Linked DNA regions of Homo sapiens: region 2 is linked to region 1. The links are contacts of gene promoters, found by promoter capture Hi-C in human tissues and cell types (Jung and others, 2019). All regions are on one chromosome and are shown on one strand. Each heading gives the region's core, a stretch centred on a gene start or on the middle of the fragment in contact. The rest is flanking DNA. Distances are from core to core; before and after follow the strand shown.

Region 1 (4,655 bases), core at 695-3,194:
CCCTCCAGAGCCAGACCCGTAGCCCTCCAGTGGCCAGGGGGTCTGAGAGACCAGAAGAGAGACCCAGGGCGAGGGGAGGCCGGAGGTGGAGCCAAGCTTTTGAGCAGGCAGCCAGGTAGGCTTCCTGGAAGAGGCAATATTGAAGCTGGGTTTTGAAGGATGTATAGGAGCTTGAGGTATTCTAATATCTGCCATCAGTAGCTGCTTGCTATGTTTTGGATATTAATAAAGATCATCTAGGCTTCATAGCAACTCAGGACCAGGGGCATCTACTGAGAGGAAATGGTGCTTTGGAGAGACTGGACATTTGTCCTGGGGCATGCTGTGAGCCCCCACCTCAGTCTGATGTCAGGATTTGAACTCTGGATGTTGGACTGAGTTCCTGCCACTGTCTCCAAGGGACAGGAAGGAAACACACCGGGGGTGCCGTGTGACTGAGCCCTCTGTGTGCCAGGGAGGGATGGCACCTGGACCACCTTACAAACCTCCCATCCAGAAAGACCCTAATCCCGGAGCTTGGGAGGGTGCGACACTGCCCCGGGACCTCCCTGAGGGATGCAGCCTGGGAGGCATGCAGGGCGCAGAGAGGGGGTGGTGGGGCTGCTCTCTCCTCAGCCCACAGCCCTCAGCCTAGGGCCGCCAAACCTGTCCCACCCTTTACCCATTAGGTGAACACACCCCAGGACCCAGCAGCCTGGATCCCCTGCATATGCCTGGACACGCACCCAGACACAGCGTACACCCTGCGCACAACACACACACCGCGCGCAGGTCCAGCCGCGGCTCCAGCCCGACCAATCGCGCCCACGATCTGCTCCTCCCGCGGACGCGCAGGGGCTGAGTCCGACACGCGCCGCGGCAGAGACGGCCGATCGCGACCGCGCGCCTCGCTCCCCTCCCCCACCTCCCCGGCCCCGCGGGCGGCGCCGGCTGTGATCTCATCCCCTGAATTATCGATCGGGCTCCGGGCAGCCTCGCCCCTCCCTCCCTCCCCACCTGCCAGCGCGTCCCGGCCCCTCCCTTTGTTCCCGGCAATCAGCCCTGCTTGGGGCGGGGCAGGTGCAGGGGAGCTCCAGCCAAGTCGGGCCAGGAGGCTGGGTCCCGGGGTGACAGTGACACCCCGTTTTCTGGTGCAGAAGGAACCGACCCTTGAGGCCAGGGAAGGTGCGGCCGGTCTCGGAGAGGTTGAGGCTGGGGATGGAGCGACCGGCCTGGGAGGCTGAGGCCCAGAGCTCAGATGAGCTGGTGCGGGACTGGGCTCCCCAGAAGTGAGGGAAGAAGGGCCGCGACCCTCCAGCCCGCTCCCCTGAGTTACAGCCGGAGAAACTGAGGCCGGGACAGGCCGCAGAGCAGGGGCCCGGCTCCGCTCCTAGCCCCGCCCCCCCCCCCCACCCCCGAGCCGGCACTCCTGGGTTTGAGCTTCGTCTGTGAGCCCTCGGCCGCGCCCCTTCCCCTCCCCGCGCCTCAGTTTCCCCACTAAGAAATAGGGGTGACCCTAAGGTACCTTCTAGCTGCAACAACGGAGAGGGAGGGGCTGACCTTAGGGTCTGGGGTTCTCTTTTCCCTGGCCGCGCCTCCCGGGGCCTCAGTTTCCCCACTAGGAAATAGGGGAAAGAAGGGATGTGGAATTTCTAAGCTTCTCCAGCTCGGTCCTTCTGCGAACTTGGGCGGCGGGCGGGGGTGGGGGGCGCAGCGGGGAGGGTCGCTGACGGGGTTCTGGGTTCAAAGCCCCGTCCCGCCTTGGCTGCGGGTTCCAGGCCAGCGCCCGGTGTCCTCGGAGGGCCTCAGTTTCCCCAGCCTCGCGGCCAGGCTCCGGGACGAGGAGGGCCGGGGTCCCAGGGGCGCAGCCCCCCGCGGCTGCGCGCTGGGCCGGGCGGATGACATCACCGGGCCGGGGGGCGGGAGGGAGCGGGCGGAGCGGGAGGGCTTCCTCCGCGCCAGGCGCAGCGCCCGGTCGGGCTCCGTCGGGCGGCCGCGGCCATGACGCAGGGTCCGGGCGGGCGCGCGCCCCCGGCGCCCCCCGCGCCCCCCGAGCCCGAGGCGCCCACCACCTTCTGCGCGTTGCTGCCCCGAATGCCGCAGTGGAAGTTCGCGGCCCCGGGCGGCTTCCTGGGCCGCGGCCCGGCGGCGGCGCGGGCGGCTGGGGCCTCGGGGGGCGCGGACCCCCAACCCGAGCCGGCGGGCCCGGGGGGCGTCCCGGCGCTGGCGGCCGCCGTCCTGGGCGCCTGCGAGCCCCGCTGCGCCGCGCCCTGTCCCCTGCCCGCGCTCAGCCGCTGTCGGGGCGCGGGGTCGCGGGGGTCGCGGGGCGGGCGGGGGGCGGCGGGGTCCGGGGACGCCGCCGCCGCCGCCGAGTGGATCCGGAAGGGCAGCTTCATCCACAAACCCGCGCACGGCTGGCTACACCCCGACGCCAGGGTCCTGGGGCCCGGGGTCTCCTACGTCGTGCGGGTGAGTCCCCCCCACCCCCCCCGGGAGCCCGTTCGCGGCGGCCTCCCCTCCCCCACCCTCTCCTCCGGGACCCCCGGACCCCGCGAGCCAGGTGTCCCCTCCCCATCCTTCCTGCTCTCCCGCCACCCCGGACCCCCATCCCCGGCCGGCGGCCGGCGGCTGCCCCCACCCGGAGGCGCTGGGGTCCGGGTTCCCACGGCGTCACGTGGGGAGGGGCGGGGAGAGGGCGGCGGGGGAGGGGCGCGCATGCGCAGGTGCACCGCCCCCCACTCGGACTGGGCGGGCGAGGCCGAGAGCGGCGAGCGGCCGGGGCGTCTCTGCCACCGGAGCCCCCCGGACAGCTGTTCACGAATGACAGACGGGGCCCGAGACGCTGGCCTGCGGTGGGGGTGCGGGAAGGGGTGTTTGGAAAGGGGCTGGCGCCCGGACAGACCCCAGGATTCCAGATGGGAGGCAGCAGGGACTTCCAGGGCGGCCAAGGAAGCGGCCTTTGTTTATTTACCTTGGGTCTTATGATAAATGAACCTTTTCAAACACACGGGGAAGTCGGGCGCCTGGACACAGCACGCCTCCACCTAGGAGGGTAACCTTCCCCTCTGCTGACGGGTCTGCCCCTCTCTGTGGTTTATAGTAAACCGTGTGAAGTCACCTGCAGGGGTGACAGCGCCGTGCATAGTCCCCCGTCTTCTGAGAGAGCAGCTGTCCTACAGCTGCAGTCATTACGGCGTCTGGGAAAATGATCAGCCACTCCCGCACGCCACTACCGGTGGGTGCTCCCAGCTCCTCCCGGCCTCTGCGGCCAGGAACATTAGCCTGTGTTCACATTGGGTTGTGTCTTTGCTTTTCTGGACACTGAGTTCAGTAGGGTCCTTCCCTCTACACTGAGTTGAGAAGGGTCCTTCCCCTTACACTGAGTTCAGTGGGGTCCTTCCCCCTACGCTGAGTTCAGTGGGGTCCTTCCCCCTACGCTGAGTTCAGTAGGGTCCTTCCCTCTACACTGAGTTGAGAAGGGTCCTTCCCCCTACGCTGGGTTCAGTGGGGTCCTTCCCCCTACGCTGAGTTGAGAGGGGTCCTTCCCCCTACGCTGGGTTCAGTGGGGTCCTTCCCCCTACGCTGGGTTCAGTGGGGTCCTTCCCCCTACGCTGGCTTCAGTGGGGTCCTTCCCCCTACGCTGGCTTCAGTGGGGTCCTTCCCCCTACGCTGGGTTCAGTGGGGTCCTTCCCCCTACGCTGGCTTCAGTGGGGTCCTTCCCCCTACACCGAGTTGAGAGGGGTCCTTCCCCCTACGCTGGGTTCAGTGGGGTCCTTCCCCCTACGCTGGGTTCAGTGGGGTCCTTCCCCCTACACCGAGTTGAGAAGGGTCCCCCTACAATTCCTGTGCCGTAGGAGTCTGACCTTATTACCTTATATTGGGAACAGGGTCCTTGCAGATGTAACCTAGTCAAGATGAGGCCTACCTGGATCAGGGGTCTCTGTAAGGAGAAGGAACTTTAGACTCAGATGCACAGAGGAGCGGGCCGTTAGGAGACAGGCAGAGGTGGGGGCCTCAAGCCCGGGCCCACCAAAGCCTGTGGGAGCCCCCAGAAGCTGGCTGTGAAACCTCACTCCCCCACGTGTGGTCCCCAGGCGCGCTCGGCCTGCGCAGTACAACCGGCTTCTGCCTCCCCAGGACCCGCTTCCGCCTCCCCGGAACCCTCTTCCGCCTCCCCAAGACCCGCTTCCGCCTCCCCAGGACCCGCTTCCGCCTCCCCGGAACCCGCCTCCGCCTCCCCGGGACCCGCTTCCGCCTCCCCGGAACCCACTTCCGCCTCCCCAAGACCCGCTTCCGCCTCCCCGGAACCCGCTTCCCCCTCCCCCGGAACCCACTTCCGCCTCCCCAAGACCGGCTTCCGCCTCCCCGGAACCCGCGTCCGCCTCCCTGGAACCCACTTCCCCGTCCCCCGGAACCCGCTTCCGCCTCCCCAGGACCCGCTTCCACCTCCCCGGAACCCGAATCCGCCTCCCCAGGACCCGCTTCCGCCTCCCCGGAACCTGCTTCCCCGTCCCCCGGAACATGCGTCTGCCTCCCCGGAACCCACTTCCGCCTCCCCAAGACCCGCTTCTGCCTCCCCAGGACCCGCTTCCGCCTCCCCGGAACCCGATTCCGCCTCCCCGGGACCCGCTTCCGCCTCCCCGGAACCCGCTTCTGTCTCCCCGGAACCCGCTTCC
Region 2 (4,655 bases), core at 1,832-4,331, 54 kb before region 1:
CTGGCCTCCCCCGTCCCAGCCCCTACCCAGCCTCGGCCTCCTCCTCCCAGCACCCCCCAGCCTGGCCTCCCCCCTCCCAGCCCCCACCCAGCCTGGCCTCCGTCCTCCCAGCACCCCCCAGCCTGGGTCTCCCCCCTTCTAGCCCCCACCCAGCCTGGCCTCCCTCCTCCCAGCCCCCACCCATCCTGGCCTCCCCCCTCCCAGCCCCCACCCAGCCTGGCCTCCGTCCTCCCAGCACCCCCCAGCCTGGGCCTCCCCCCTTCCAGCCCCCACCCATCCTGGCCTCCATCCTCCCAGCCCCCACCCAGCCTGGCCAGCCCCCACCCAGCCTGGCCTCCCCCCTCCCAGCCCCCACCCAGCCTGGCCTCCCCCCTCCCAGCCTCCACCCAGCTCAGGCCTCTCCTCCCCGCAGCTCCCATCCAGCCCTGGCTTCCCAGCTCCAACTGGACCGGCCTCAGGGCCTCTGCAAGGGCCGTGACACTGCCTTCCCCCAGATCTCCCTCACCTCCTCCCTGGTCTCCTCCAGGTCTCTCCTCAAATGTCGCCTCCCCTGACCCCTAACTCCTTTCCTCCTGTTTTCTTCCTAGTGGTCATCCTGTCTCACTCGCTGTCCCACATCCCTGTGAGCTTCATGTCTCCCACCAGTGTGAGCACCTGCCCTCCAGGGCCGGAAGTTCGTCTTGGTTATAGCCCTGGTGCCCAGAACACTGCCCTGCCCACAGTAGGTGCTCAGTAAATGTCTTGAATCAACGGCAGGCATCTGTCTGGGGCATCTGGCCCCAGTGAAGAAGGAATTAGTGAAATCAGCTCTAACCTAATAGTAGTAGTCATAGAAATTTTAAAATCCTCTTAAAGTTGCTGCAAAGTGTGACCCCCACCCTTACACTCAAGTTAAAAGAGAATGTTAACAGCCTGTCTTCTCTCTGTAGTCAGTGGACCTTATCTATACTCTCCAACTCCACATTCCTCAGTTTATTACAGGCCCAGCGAGTTCCTGCTTACCTCCCTAGCACGGCTGCAGGGTCACAAAACCGATAAGTTTAGGTTGTAAGACATGTTTTTCTCAAGATGTGAGAAATGTTGGCCAGGCACGGTGGCTCACGCCTGTAATCCCAGCACTTTGGGAGGCCGAGGTGGGAGGATCACAAGGTCAAGAGATTGAGGCCATCCTGGCCAACATGGTGAAACCCCATCTCTACTAAAAATACAAAAATTAGCGGGACGTGGTGGTACACGTCTGTAGTCCCAGCTACTCGGGAGTCTGAGGCAGGAGAATCGCTTGAACCTGGGAGGTGGAGGTTGCGGTGAGCCAAGATGGCGCCACTGCACTCCAGCCTGGGCGACAGAGCGAGACTCCGTCTCAAAAAAAAAAAAAAGAAAAAGAAAAAAGAAATGCTGTAATGCTTAACTGCCTTTGTTTCTCGCCTCTGTAACTTGCTTCCCGCCTCACGTAGTTCCCGCCTTACGATGTTTAAAAATAGGAAAAGCCCTTTGTTCGAGGCTCAGACTTTCTGGATGTATGTCCAGCTGAGCCGGTGATCACCTTGATAAACTCTCCTGAACCTTTTTCGGTCTCTCCACTCTTTGTCCCACAACACCAGGACCCTCTGGTCTCCCTCCCTGCAGCAGCAGCGCCTGTTTACATGTGGCCAAATACTGTGCCCAACATTTAACACAACTGACATTTGTTTTTTTCTTTTCTTTCTTTCTTTCTTCCTTTTTTTTTTTTTTTTGAGACGGAGTCTCGCTCTGTCGCCCGGGCTGGAGTGCAGTGGCGGGATCTCGGCTCACTGCAAGCTCCGCCTCCCGGGTTCACGCCATTCTCCTGCCTCAGCCTCCCAAGTAGCTGGGACTACAGGCGTCCGCCACTATGCCCGGCTAATTTTTTGTATTTTTAGTAGAGACGGGGTTTCACCGTTTTAGCCGGGATGGTCTCGATCTCCTGACCTCGTGATCCACCCGCCTCGGCCTCCCAAAGTGCTGGGATTACAGGCGTGAGCCACCGCGCCCGGCCCTCTTTCTTTTTTTGAGACAGTGTCTCACTCTGTTGTCAGGCTGGAGTGCAGTGGCACAATCTCAGCTCACAGCAACCTCCACCTCCCGGGTTCAAGCGATTCTCCTGCCTCAGCCTCCTGAGCTGCTGGGATTACAGGCGTGTGTTACCACACCCAGCTAATTTTTGTATTTTTAGTAGAGACGGGGTTTCACCATGTCGGCCAGGATGGTCTGGATCTCGAGTGACCTCGTGGTCCGCCCACCTCGGCCTCCCAAAGTGCTGGGATTACAGGTGTGAGCCACTGCGCCCAGTCTGTGCTGAACATTTAACACAGCTGACATTGCATTTTTTCTTTTTTTTTTTTTTTTGAGACAGGGTCTCACTGTGTTGTGCAGGCTGGAGAGCAGTGGTACAATCAGGGCTCACAGCAGCCTCCACCTCCTGGGCTCAAGCGATCCTCCTGCCTCAGCCTCCCAAACTGCTGGGATTACAGGTGACAGTTGCTGCTCGGGGCCAGTGGTGGTATTTCTCTCCCCACAATCCCACAGGCAAGGCCCCACAGTCAGCCTGAGGGTCAAATACGACCTGCTGCCTGCTTTTGTAAATAAAGCTTTATCGGAACATAACCACATCAGTCCGCTGACATGTGGCCTGTGGCAGCTTCCGACCAGAACCGTAGAGCTGAATGTCAGGATGGAGGCTGCCACGCAAAGCTGAAATGTTCACTATCTGGCCCCTTACAGAAGAAGGCTGTCAGCCCTGCTGCCGGCTCTGGGGTGGGTTCGATTCCCTGCCCCAGTGAGGAGCCTGAGGCCTTACTACGTGCCACTCGTGTGCTGGTAGTGTGACACACACTCCCGTGGAGGGCACCAGGGAGTGGCCAGGGAGCACCGTGGCCAGCGTGGGGGCCGCTGCAGGACCCTGGGTGGGCTGCTTAACCCCCTGGCCTCACTCCCCCCATCAGTTCCCGGCCAGGCCTCATGCTAGTGGCCTGTTACTTCCTCTGGGACATATAGGGAAACTGAGGCTCAGGGCAGCCCCATGGTCTGGCCAAGGGTCCCAGAGAGGAAGTGGCCAACCTCAGGGCTTACGCTTTTCCCTTCTGGGAGCTCAGCTTCATGGTGAGGAGGGCAGCCTTCCCTCCGGCATGACCTGGGCACACGACTTCACCTTTCTGTGGGCCACCTGTGGTAGGTGCCGGGGAAGTGCTAAGCCAGCATGCAGTAGGTGCTCAGTAAATGCAGGGTTGGTGTGCAGCAGGTGCTCAGTAATGCAGGGCTGGTACACAGTAGGTGCTCAGTGATGCTGGGCCAGAATGCAATAGGTGCTCAGTAAATGTGGGGCTGGTGTGCAATAGGTACTCAGTAATGCTGGGGCGGTGTGCAGTGGGTGCTCAGTAAATGCTGGGCCAGTAAGCAATAGGTGCTTAGTAAACGTGGGGTCGGTGTGCAGTGGGTGCTCAGTAATACAGGGCCGGTGTAGAGTAGGTGCTCAGTGAATGCAGGGCCAGTACACGGTAGGTACTCAGTAATGCTGGGGCGGTGTGCAGTGGGAGTGAAGTAAATGCTGGGCCAGCATGCAATAGGTGCTCAGTAAATGTAGGGTCAGTGTGCAGTGGGTGCTCAGTAATACAGGGCTGGTGTACAGTAGGTGCTTAGTGAATGCAGGGCTGGTACATAGTAGGTGCTCAGCAAATGTGGGGCCAGTGTGCAGTGGGTGCTCAGTAATGCTGGGTCTGTGTACAGTGGGTGCTCAGTAAATGCTGGGCCAGCATGCAATAGGTGCTCAGTAAATGTGGGGCCGGGGCAGGTTGGTGTGCAGCAGGTGCTCAGTAATGCAGGACTAGTGCACAGTAGGTGCTCAGTAATGCTGGGGTTGTGTGCAGTGGGTGCTCACTAAATGCTGGGCCAGGATGCAATAGGTGCTCAGTAAATGTGGGGCCAGTGTGCAGTAGGTGCTCAGTAAATGTGGGGCTGGTGTGCAGTAGGTACTCAGTAATGCTGGGCTGGTGTGCAGTAGGTACTCAGTAATGCTGGGCTGGTGTGCAGTAGGTACTCAGTAATGCTGGGCTGGTGTGCAGTAGGTACTCAGTAATGCAGGGCCAGTATGCAGTAGGTGCTCAGTAATGCTGGGCTGGTGTGCAGTAGGTGTTCAGTAATGCAGGGCCGGCATGCAGTAGGTGCTCAGTAAATGCTGGGCGGGTGCACAGTAGGTGCTCAGTAATGCTGGGCCGGTGCACGGTGGGTGCCTGGTGAACACGTGCCTCCCTGGTCATCACTGCTGCTCAGTTCAGGGCTTAGGGATGGACGTGCCATCTCAGCGAGCTCGAGGGTCAAAGCTCTGCTATGGAGGAGGAAACTGAGGCCCAGAGGCAGGAGGGCAGCGACCTGCAATTCAACTCTAGGCCCATCTGGCTGTACGCTCCTTTTCCCTCCCAAGTAGTAAAGGCCCCATTTGTTGGCCCTTATAATCCGCTGGGCGCTTTTACCATCCATGAGGTCATCCCCAAAATGCGCTGGGGGCAGTCGCAGTGTCAGCGCGGCGGCCCGAGCTCCCATCACGCCTGACCTCTCCGCATGACCCAGCAGGAGCCGCACCGGGGCCCCTCTCATCAGGATCTGCTGTGAGGCCGGGCAGGCTGCTGCCGCCTCACAGATCA

Evidence for each region. The method cuts DNA at HindIII sites, captures the fragments that hold promoters and counts their contacts. A contact is called where the count stands out against the background at its distance.
Region 2: a fragment that was not itself captured here is called in contact with the fragment with the promoter of SHC2 in region 1 in 3 of the 25 tissues and cell types used here (dorsolateral prefrontal cortex, mesendoderm cells and thymus).

The regions. Positions count from the first base shown.
Region 1 is chr19:458,322-462,976 of GRCh38, reverse strand. It overlaps SHC2 (SHC adaptor protein 2), which reads left to right and starts at 1,944. Exons shown (of 13, transcript NM_012435.3): 1 at 1,944-2,448. The coding sequence starts at 1,981. The HindIII fragment of the contact is 8,702 bases long and covers 867-4,655 here.
Region 2 is chr19:513,110-517,764 of GRCh38, reverse strand. The region is part of intron 1 of TPGS1 (tubulin polyglutamylase complex subunit 1); the gene reads right to left. Among named protein-coding and RNA genes, the nearest start is that of MADCAM1-AS1, 7.5 kb to the right of the region's middle. The HindIII fragment of the contact is 7,591 bases long and covers 1-4,655 here.